Regions from separate parts of the Homo sapiens genome. Here regions 1 and 2 are each linked to region 3. Evidence: promoter capture Hi-C in 16 types of primary human blood cells and fetal thymus (Javierre and others, 2016). All regions are on one chromosome and are shown on one strand. The core of a region is centred on a gene start or on the middle of the fragment in contact, and the rest is flanking DNA. Distances in the headings are between cores, read along the strand shown. Region 1 has its middle 2.1 kb from the start of STARD3NL. Region 2 overlaps TRG-AS1 (T cell receptor gamma locus antisense RNA 1). Region 3 holds the start of CDK13 (cyclin dependent kinase 13).

Region 1 (3,543 bases), core at 588-3,087, 1.8 Mb before region 3:
GTCTTTGTCTGGCTTTGGTATGAGAATACTAGTGGCCTCATAGATTCAGTTAGGAAGTGTTCCCACCTCTTCAATTTTTTGGAAGAGTTTGAGAAGGATTGGTGTTAATTCTTTAAATGTCCAGTAGAATTCACCAGTGAAGCCATCTGGTCTTTGACTTTTGTTTTTTAAGGTTTTGTTGTTGTTGTTTTTAAAGGACTGATTAAATCTCTTTGTTATAGATCTGGTTATAGTTCCTATTTTTTCTTGAGTTAGTTTTGGTAATTTCTGTGTTTCTAGGAACATGTCCTTTTCATTCAGGTTATTTGTCAGCACACAACTGTTCACAGTCAAATCTTACAATCCTTTTTCCATATATAAGTTTGATATAATGTCTTCACTTTCATTTCTCATTTTATTTAATTGAATCTTATCTTTCTCTTTTCAAATTTGGGGAGTTCTGAGACATTTTTCTCCGCTAATGTAGTTTTTCTTTTTCTCTCTTTTCCTTGTGTGACTTCTGTAATATATATTTCGGTATCCTTGTTGATATCCCATAGGTTCCTTAGGCTTTGCTCATTTTCCTGTTATTTCTTTCTGCTCCTAAGACTGGATAATTTCAGTTTTCCTATCTTAAAGTTTACTGATTCATCCTTCAACATGCGAAAATGTTTCTTGAAATTCTCAAGTGAAGTTTTCACTTCACTTATTTGTACTTGCAAGCCCAAGATTTTCTATTTGGTTCCTTTTGATAATTTCTATCTTTTTATTGATATTTTCCTTTTGTTTATACATCATTACCCTAGTTTCCTTCAGGTTTTATGTTCTTGGTTTTGTGTCTAGAATTGGTGAGTTTCTTGGTCTCGCTGACTTCATGAATAAAGCTGCGGACCCTCACGGTGAGTGTTACAGTTCTTAAAGATGGTGTGTCCAGAGTTTGTTCCTTCTGGAGGGTTCATGGTCTTGCTGACTTCAGGAGTGAAGCCACAGATCTTCACAGTAAGTGTTACAGCTCTTTAAGGTGGCATATCCAGAGTTGTTTGTTTCTCCCGGTGGGTTCGTGGTCTCGCTGACTTCAGGAGTGAAGCTGCAGACCTTCGCAGTGAGTGTTACAACTCTTAAAGCAGCGCATCTGGAGTTGTTCATTCCTCCTGTTGGGTTCGTGGTCTCCCCGGCTTCAGGAGTGAAGCTGCAGACATTTGCGGTGAGTATTACAACTCATAAAGGTAATGCGGACCCAAAGAGTGAGCAGCAGCAAGATCTATTGCAAAGAGCGAAAGAACAAAGCTTCCACAGTGTGGAAGTCGAGGTGGGTTGCTGCTACTGGCTCGGGTGGCCTGCTTCTATTCCCTTATTTGGCCACACTCACATCCTGCTGATTGGTCCATTTTACAGAGCGCTGATTGGTCCATTTACAGAGTGCTGATTGGTCCGTTTTTACAGAGTGCTGACTGGTGCGTTTACAAACCTTTAGCCAGACACAGAGTGCTGATTGGTGCATCTACAATCCTTTAGCTTGACAGAAAAGTTCTCCAAGTCCCCACCCGATTAGCCAGACACAGAGTGCTAATTGGTGCATTTACAAACCTTTAGCTAGACACAGAGTGCTGATTGGTGTGTTTACAATCCTTTAGCTAGACAGAAAAGTTCTCCAAGTCCCCACCCAACCTAGAAGCCCAGCCGGCTTCATCTCTCAGTTTCCTTTAGTTCTTTGAGCATATGTAAGACAGTTGACTTAAATCATTATCTAATAAGTCCACTATCTGGGCTTCCTTAGGAATGGTTTCCATCAATTTCTTTGAGACTTCAGAGGCTACACATGAGTGAATGCAATTAAATCCACAATGTGATGCCTCTACATATTCACCAGAATGTATAACATTTAAAAAGGAAAAGAAAAAGGAAGAACACAAAACACAAATGAGTATAGTAAGTGTTGGCAAAGATGCAGAGTAACTGAAATTTTCATTCACGACTAGGGCATGTATAAATTAGTAAAACCTAAAAACTATTTGGCAGTGTCTATTAATGTTGAATATATTGAATATATACCCTGTGCATAGTAACACTACTTCCAGGGATCTTCCAAAATCAAATGTGTAACTATGTGCATCATAAGACAGGTACAAGAATATTCATAGCAGCGTCATTTGTAATTACCCCAAACTTTAAATAATCTAATGTCAAACAACAGTAGAATAGGCAAGTAAATTTTAGAATTATATACAAAAATGAAAATGAAACTATTATATTCTTGAATATGGATCAATCTTACAAATATAGTATTAAGCAAAAAGAGCCACATAAGAGTGCGTATTATGTATGACTATTTATAAACATTCAGAAGCAGGCAAAACTAATTGGGTGGTAGGATTCAGAATTGTGCCTATCTGTGTGTAGGGGTATAATGACTAAGACTGAGCATGAGGAAAGCTTCTAAATTGCTGGTAAACATTTAAAATTTTGCTGTGAGGCGGTGGTTACACAAGTTTGTTCACACTGTCACTAAGACAAGCACTTATGATTATTACACTTATTTTGTATATGTGTTATGCTTTAAAAGGTTTTCACATCTATCAGTTTATAAAATTTTTTTAAATTGTATTTTATCAGTATTGGCGAGGATACAGGGAAAAATTGCTCAAATACTAGCAGTGGGAATGTAAGTTAAAACAACTACTCAGGGGAGCAAATCAGTGAAATCTATTAAGGATTTACATCGTGCAAACTCTGTGATCCAGTACATTCTCTTGTTGGTATCTGCACTCTAGAGAAATACTTGGACCTAAGTACAAAAAGGCATCTACATATATATTTATGGTACCATTGCTTCTCATAATAATATTAATAAACAAACGTGAGGGTGGGGGAATGGTACATTAATTATGTATGTATATATATACACATATTGGTTCTGAGGACATGCAGCATTTTCAGAGAATGAGGTAGATTTATATACAGATATGGAAAGATTTCAATGCTAAGTGTAAAAAAGTAACATCTACACTTGCAAATGCACAGGAACTAGGAGTCATCATCTACAGACTGGGTTTGTAATTAGGGCCTAAAAGGGATATAAGCATAATTGTAACGTTTAAGCTTTTTTTTTTTTTCGCATGGACAAAATCTTACTTGTGTAATTTAAAATTAATAACGGTACTTAGAATGACTTTGGAAAAATATACAAATAATGAAATGGGGATCCAAAGAATGTTCACTGTATACCTCTGTACTTCTAAAAATGTGAATAAGTGTAGCATCCGTTGGGAGAAAAGTTTAATTAAATTTTAAATAAAACAATAAAAGGTGCCTAACTTCGTGTGAAAACAGACATATAGATATAATTAAATGTGACTACCGCTTAGAGATGTTAGTTATGAACTAGGAGCGCTGAGAAAAGGTATCCTAAATAGGTCTGGGGGAAGTGAGAGTTAGAAGAGGTGACTCTTGAGCTGAGTACCGACATAGAAATGGTATGCCCTGTTTTTATTCCTGGAGGGCTCAGCATGAGGTGCCCAAGAGGCCCTGAAACCCATTTCCATGACATTTTCCCACGAGCTGGAG
Region 2 (3,544 bases), core at 395-2,894, 1.6 Mb before region 3:
ATGCAACCGTAATGATATGTTGAATTTAGACAACTACCATGAATTGCTTTATAGCTTTCACGTGCCCTGGCTCTATTTCTCTCTCTACTATTCTATTTCTCTATCTCCTGCATTGCTTTCTATCACTATGTCCTTCCATCTCCGTCTTTATGTCCATATTTCTTTTTTCTCTGTCCCGTTTTTGTTCCTCCCTTTACATTTTTCCTTCTATAGCTCCCTCTTACAGCTCTCAGTCTCCTCTATTTTGCTTTAGTGCTCCTGTTTCTTACTCTGTTCATATCTTTATGTTTCTGTCTCTCTATCTGCCTATCTCTATTCATCTCTTTTTCTATTTCTCTATTTGTATCTCTCCTATCTATTTACTTTCTACCTCCTTCTCTCCTCCTCTCTTTCCATTTCTTCCTGTGGTCACTATAGCTCCTTTAAAGTCTTTGTTATTCCAACACCTGTGTCGTGTCAGGATTAGCATCTGTTGTTTGGCTTTTCCGTTTGGAGATGCTAAGATTTTCCTCGTCCTCCACATGCGGAGTAATTTCGGATTAAATCCTGTACACTTTGAATATCATGTTATAGAGCTCTGGGCATTGTTTAAATATTACACAGAATGTGGAGGGGGTTTTTTTGTTAGCAGGCAACTGACGCAGTTAGGGATTACAACTTCCTACTGGTGTTTGGTGGGCAGTTCCAGTCAGTTCCGTTTTCCAGCCTTTGCAGTACTTGTCTTGTCAGACCTGTCCTGTGTGTGCGCCACCCAGTGGCCATTCTAGGACCTGGGCAGTGCCTACTCCTGCTTCGGTTTGCAAGGCCTTTGGCTTTGGAGCTGTTTAGGGTCACGTTTATGCATGCACAGCTAGTGGGTGAGCCCAGGAGTCCAGACATCATTGCATGATGTTTCTTGCTTAATCTTCTTTCTCTCTGCAAGCTCTGCAATACTTTCTAGTTCACAGGAAATGCCCCTCCAGTCGTCTGGCCAGACAGGTGTGGCTTTAGCACACTGCATTTCCCACCATTGTGTCTCCCTCCAGGGCCAAGTGGTGAGAGGATAGAGAACAAAAACCACCAGGATTCTCTCTCAGGGCCACAGCTTCCCTGGTCAGAGAGAAGGATCCCTTTCCTAAGAGCTTTAGGCTCCTGGCTCACCATAGCTGCTGCCACTGCCACTCAGATTGCCTGGGGGCTGCGAGAGAATGGAAAAGGACAAAAAACAGAAAACCAGGGCTCTCTGACCACAGAGAGTCCCCCTTTCTCTCTGTCCTCACCTGGTGTACAGTTCTGCATTTCAGATTATCTTTGTACATATACTCTGATTATCTGAGTACAGGCCAGGGGATAATTGAGGAAAAATAAATAAGAAACTTACTGGGAATTCATAGTGCTTCACTTTCCGATTTCCTTCTCCAGTTGACTTGCTATCATTTATTTTTCAAAGTCCTCAGATTCAGGGTTCATAGTTGCATTTGTGAGCCAGACAAGGCAGTGTGGGCTCACTGCAAATTTTCCAGAAGTGGAACTCATTCTTGATAAGTCAAAGCTCCTTCGATTAAGAGGCGCCGTTTATGCCCCCCGCCTTTTTTTTTTTTTAAATACAAGAAGAACTCATAGGGCTCCAGTTCTGAATTGAGGCTTCAAGTGGCCTGATGTGCTTCTGCTAGCTCTTTGCTTTCTGTCATTGTCATTAGAACAAATCCAGGCTAGCCTGTTGGAGGATGAAACCCTGTGTGTAGTGGAGCTGATTTATTCAGACCCAGGCACTTTGACCAGGCAGTCCCCCTCCCAGCTAACCCAGCAGCTGCCTGACATGTGGCCAAGCCCAGCCAAGATCAGATGAGCTTGGTTTAGATCAGCAGAACAGTCTAGCAAACCTACGCATTTGTAAGAATTTGTAGATGATTATTGTGCTAAGCCACTGAGTTTGGGATATTTGCTACATGGCGTTATTGTGGCAATAGTATGGATAGACAGACAGACAGATAGAATATATGAAGAGAAAAGGAAAGCTAGAAATACATATAATTTTTTTTTTTTGAGACGGAATCTCGCTCTGTCGCCCAGGCTGGAGTGCAGTGACGCGATCTTGGCTCACTGCAAGCTCCACCTCCCTGGTTCATGCCATTCTCCTACCTCAGCCTCCCGAGTAGCAGGGATTACAGGTGCCCGCCACCACACCCGGCTAATTTTTTGTATAGAAATATATATAATATTTTATATATAACATATTATACATGTATAAATACATTTATGTATATTTTTACAATATATAAATATGCATATTTCTTTGTTTTTTCTCTTTATATATATTTTTCTATCTCAATATTTACCATTATTTCTGTATATTTATCTCTATCTTCCTAACACTGCCGCACTCTGTGTGTCCACGTGTATGCTTCTGTCTCCACAGGTCTATCGTTCTCTCTCTCTCCCTATCTCTCCCCCTAACTCCAGTTCTCTCTTCTTGTATCTTTCCCTATTTCTCTGTCTCTCTCCATCACTGTCCCTGTCCCTGTCGCTATATTTATATCACAGTTTCTCTCTCTTCTCTGTTGTTTTCTCTCTCTCCATCTTCCCTCCCTCTCTCGCTGTCTCTCTGTCCCTTTGTCTCTCACCCTCTCTCTGTGTTTTGTATTTCTTTCTCTGTTTTCTCTCTCTCTCCCCCGCCATGATAGAGAACTATACCTCTCCACGTGTCTCTGTCTCTTGCTCTTTTTGCTTGTATGGCCACTGTCCTAGTCATTTTCTTTCCTTCTCACTTCCACTCTGCTCTCTGTCCCTCTTCAACTTTCTACTTTCTGTTGCCGTCACTGTCTCTATATCATGCCCTCTCCCTCTTCATATGAACACTCTGTCCCCTCTTGTGTCTCTCCTTTTGTCTCTATCAAGTCCTCCTTGCCAGTCTTCTGGGGTCCTGAGGGTGTGATCTGCTCACTATGGTGGGAGAGAGGTGCAAACTCACAGATGTAAATGTTCTTCTGCTTCTCCTCGTAATTGTACCTTTACATATCAAGAGGTCAGCATTATGATGATGATGATAGAAGAATTGTTTAAAAAAATAGCACTGCCTTGGGGAGAAAGTTCTAGTGCGCAGACAATTGCTTGTATTTCTATTTCAGTCTGCTGTGAGATGTTCCCTAGCAACACTATGGGAAACAATCTGCTTACCATGAATTATTAGAATTTCCTCACCTCTAAATGGTTGTCTGGGCTCTCTGTATCACTTTGTGACCGCAGTGACGCAGGTCAATAGTGTTTTCAATGAGCTTAAGGGGGCACACACCTCAGTATCAAGAGCACACAGCACAAGGCCTGGAACGTAGTAGGCATTTAATGTGTATCAATGAGGCTGGGCACGGTGGCTCATGCCTGTAATCCCGGCACTGTGGGAGGCCGAGGCAGGCAGATCAGTTAAGCCCAGGAGTTCCAGACCAGCCTGAGCAACATGGTGAAACCCAGTCTCCACAAAAAATACAAAAATTTAGCTGCACGTGATGGCACACGCCTGTAGTCCCAACTACTTGGGAGGCTGAGGTGGGAGGATCCCTTGAGTCTG
Region 3 (3,731 bases), core at 1,232-3,731:
GGATTGGGAACTATCCATTTACTTTTTTTCCCTTCTTCTCCATTTAATACACTTACACATGGGAATTATCCATTTACTATGGATCAAGTTTTCTTTGAAAATATATGATAGAAGATGACATTCTCAAGTGGAACTGGTTGTACACGAGGGGAGCTGCAAGCTAAACCTCTTATTTGCTCTCTTTGTTCTGTTATTCCAGTCTATCTAACGTAGGACGATGGAACAAGTTGATCCTACATGTTTCTGAAAAAGCCACTTGCTAAACAGTCTTTGGTAGGAGGCTGGCTACAGGACCTTCACTCAACAATACTGTCAACCAGAAATTTGTTTTAGGAACCCTGCCCCCTATTTTTCTATTCAGTTTCCCAATGCCCATCCCATGGTGTTGCCCACCCAGGCCTGCCCTCCTGGGAAATGCTCTGACTTTAAGATTACCTATTCCTTTGCCTCCTCCTTTATCCTTCAGCAAACCAACATCCTTTGTACTCGGTCAGTGAAGTCTGATCTTAGCTTAAATCAGGCCAGTCTGTGATACTGTGATGTCAAACTGATTAAAATAATTTACACTAAGGTATTAACGATGGATAGATACCAAGTGTTTAAGAACTAAACCAACTGATGATCTGAACAAATGAATTTTCAAAGGGGTTACTACATTTAGTCATTGAACAGACGGCTTAGCTTTTTCTTTTATTAGAGGCAGGGCCTCGCCCTGCTGATTGGCCAGGCTGGGGTGCTGTGGCACGGTCATGGCTCACTCCAGCCTCGAACTCTTGAGCTCCAGAGATCCTCCTGCCTCAGCCTCCGGAGTAGCTGGGACTACAGGCGTGTGCCACTGCACAGGGTTAGCTTGCGTTTCCAACCATTCTAAAAGCCAATAAGCCATTTACATTTTAATCTAATTATCCCGAGTGCTTAGTCTGTAACTGAAGGGCAATTCTAAGGCAAGAAATGAGATGTGAGGTCACTATATGGCTATGTTTGGCAACCCCAAAGGTTTAGATATGAAGGTGAAAGTGGGTGAAGTACTAAGAGGGCAGTCCTCATTCGCACAAGATGTTTTTATTTCAAGCCTCCTGAGAATTTGGAATTTTCAGTAGTTCCTTTTAACATTCCACTTATTTCCTGTATTGATTTAAAGCTTTAAAAATTTTTATTTTAAAGTAAATAGTGTTACCGAAGCTTGAGCTGTGATTCCCAAGTGTGTTTTTTAGGATAAGAAGGGGCCTCGCGGAAGTTGCGGTGAGCCGAGATCGCACCATTGCACTCCAGCCTGGGCAACGAGAGCGAAACTCAGTCTCAAAAAAAAAAAAAAAAAAAATGGGGCCTCGAACTTTGGCGTACGTGAGACAAGTTAAACCAACGCCATCTCCACCCTGTTTTGCGGGGTGTTTTCTCTCCTTTCGCAGCTGTTCCACTCCCAGGGCTTGACTGAAGGTACACGGGGGGTAACTGCCTACTCCAGAAGGCCACCAACAGCATTATTTCCCTCGCAGTCTCCAGAAACACTTGTTCTCACTGTGACCTTTCGCTCAACAGGCAGGCAGTGCGGCGTCTGCAGAGCCGGAACCGGCACTGCGCGCTGGACGCAAGCAACAAGCACGACAGGCGCGCCACCACGGGCAGAGTCTCAAGCAACAGCAGTGGGCGGCACACGAATCCTCTCCTTTCTTTAACCCTTCTTCACACGGAGTCCCACCCTCGCCGGAAGCCGAGCGGTTTCTACATCATGCCACTTCCGGTGCGGCCTGCCGGCCCCTGGCGGGAGCGAGCACGCCAGTGCGCGGTAACTTTGTTCCCGCCTCTCTTGCCCCGGCCACCTCTCATCTTCGGCTTTCTCTGAGCGTGAATTGCGGGCGCGCTCCCGGTCGTACGTCAGGGCTGAGGGGAAAAGCCGAAAGAGCGAGGCGAGAAGGAGGGGTTGTGGAGGTTAGGGCCCAACCAGCAAGTCCCGTTGCTCTCCCTCCTCCTGACGAGGAGCGGAGAGGGAAGGGGAGGAGCGAGCCGGGGCAGGCCGCGCACACCAGGAGCCTCCTCGTGGAGGGGGGGAGCGGAGGAAAGGGGTAGCTCCGCCACCTCTGCTGGCGGCGGCGGCGGCGGCGAAAGAAGAAGAAAGTCAGGGCCCGTACCTACCGCCACAGACTCAGAAACGCCCCTGCCCCCATCTCCCCGGAAATAGCCCCCCGCCCAGCCCCGCACAGTCGCTGCCCCAACCGAGAGCCGCAGCCCGGTCGCCCCCGCCTCGCCCCGCCCCGCTGCCCAGCCCCGCGGGCCGCAGAGTGCGCGAGGCCCTAGGCCGGGAGTTGTTGTCAGGCCCAGGCCACTTCCGAGGCGCCTGCGGTGTGTCGCCGCCACCACAGGAGGACGACGTCGACGCCGAGGAGGAGGCGGTGGAGGCGTGTTGTTGTCTCGCCCACTCCCCTCCCCTGAACTTGCACCCAACGTCAGGGCGCGATGGAGTGAAGCGGCGACGAAGGTGGTACTTCCGCGTTGCGCTGCCCGAGCCGAGAGCGCGGCCAAGGCCGCTCCCCCACCCCCGGGGGCACTTGGAGGACTCGGGACTCCCCCGCAGGTCAGCGCCCGGCGCATCTGGTGTTTTCGCTGCCGAGGATAGGACGACGAGCGCAATCGGGAGCTCCGCCGCCCGGATTCCTGCTTCCCTGGGGCCCGGAGGCTGCTGCGTACCCCACTGTGACCTGGAACCCAGGGACCCGAGTCCCGACCCGGATTATCGTGGCGCTTTTCCCGGCCGGCTCTGGTGCTCGGTGTCCCTCCGCCGCCGCTCCCGTTTCCGGCGGGGGAGATGGCCAGGATCTGACCCGGGAGGAGGCCGCACCCGCGCCGCGCTCTGCGGCTGGCTCTAGGCGATGCCGAGCAGCTCGGACACGGCGCTGGGGGGAGGCGGGGGCCTGAGCTGGGCGGAGAAGAAGTTGGAGGAACGCCGCAAGCGGAGGCGATTCCTGTCCCCTCAGCAGCCGCCGCTGCTGTTGCCGCTCCTGCAGCCGCAGCTCCTGCAACCGCCGCCGCCCCCGCCGCCTCTGCTCTTCCTGGCTGCTCCCGGCACGGCCGCCGCCGCAGCCGCCGCCGCCGCGGCCTCCTCCTCTTGCTTCAGCCCGGGCCCCCCTCTGGAGGTCAAGCGGCTGGCGAGAGGCAAGAGGCGCGCAGGAGGGCGGCAGAAGCGGCGTCGCGGGCCCCGCGCCGGGCAGGAGGCGGAGAAGCGTCGGGTCTTCTCGCTGCCCCAGCCGCAGCAGGACGGCGGTGGCGGTGCTAGTAGCGGCGGGGGTGTGACCCCGCTGGTGGAATACGAGGATGTGAGCTCCCAGTCCGAGCAGGGGCTGCTGCTGGGGGGGGCCAGCGCGGCAACGGCGGCGACGGCTGCCGGGGGAACGGGGGGCAGCGGCGGGAGTCCGGCCTCCTCCTCCGGCACCCAGCGGCGCGGGGAGGGGTCGGAGCGCAGGCCCCGCCGGGACCGCCGCAGCAGCAGTGGCCGCAGCAAGGAGCGCCACCGCGAGCACCGGCGGCGGGATGGGCAGCGCGGTGGCAGCGAGGCCTCCAAGTCCCGCAGCCGCCACAGCCACAGCGGCGAGGAACGGGCCGAGGTCGCCAAGAGCGGCAGCAGCAGCAGCAGCGGCGGCCGCCGGAAAAGCGCTTCGGCCACATCCAGCAGCAGTAGCAGCCGCAAGGACCGGGACTCGAAGGCCCACCGCAGCCGGACTAAGTCGTCCAAGGAG

The links. The method cuts DNA at HindIII sites, captures the fragments that hold promoters and counts their contacts. A CHiCAGO score of 5 or more calls a contact.
Region 1: a contact is called between a fragment that was not itself captured here and the fragment with the promoter of CDK13 in region 3, in 1 of 17 cell types (naive CD4 T cells). The highest score is 5.2, in naive CD4 T cells.
Region 2: a contact is called between a fragment that was not itself captured here and the fragment with the promoter of CDK13 in region 3, in 1 of 17 cell types (naive CD8 T cells). The highest score is 6.0, in naive CD8 T cells.

Annotation. Positions count from the first base shown.
Region 1 is chr7:38,174,374-38,177,916 of GRCh38, forward strand. No RefSeq gene overlaps it. Among named protein-coding and RNA genes, the nearest start is that of STARD3NL, 2.1 kb to the right of the region's middle. RefSeq lists enhancers at 572-1,771, 3,519-3,543. The HindIII fragment of the contact is 1,146 bases long and covers 1,265-2,410 here.
Region 2 is chr7:38,369,291-38,372,834 of GRCh38, forward strand. All of the region lies in intron 3 of TRG-AS1 (T cell receptor gamma locus antisense RNA 1), which reads left to right. Among named protein-coding and RNA genes, the nearest start is that of TRG-AS1, 30 kb to the left of the region's middle. RefSeq lists an enhancer at 865-914. The HindIII fragment of the contact is 4,800 bases long and covers 1-3,544 here.
Region 3 is chr7:39,947,775-39,951,505 of GRCh38, forward strand. It overlaps CDK13 (cyclin dependent kinase 13), which reads left to right and starts at 2,482. Exons shown (of 14, transcript NM_003718.5): 1 at 2,482-3,731. The coding sequence starts at 2,868. It overlaps CDK13-DT (CDK13 divergent transcript), which reads right to left and starts at 1,645. Exons shown (of 1, transcript NR_158201.1): 1 at 1-1,645. RefSeq lists enhancers at 931-1,850, 1,350-1,479, 1,550-1,799, 1,851-2,769, 2,270-2,549 and 3 more and silencers at 2,040-2,269, 3,060-3,349, 3,420-3,479. The HindIII fragment of the contact is 3,453 bases long and covers 1,181-3,731 here.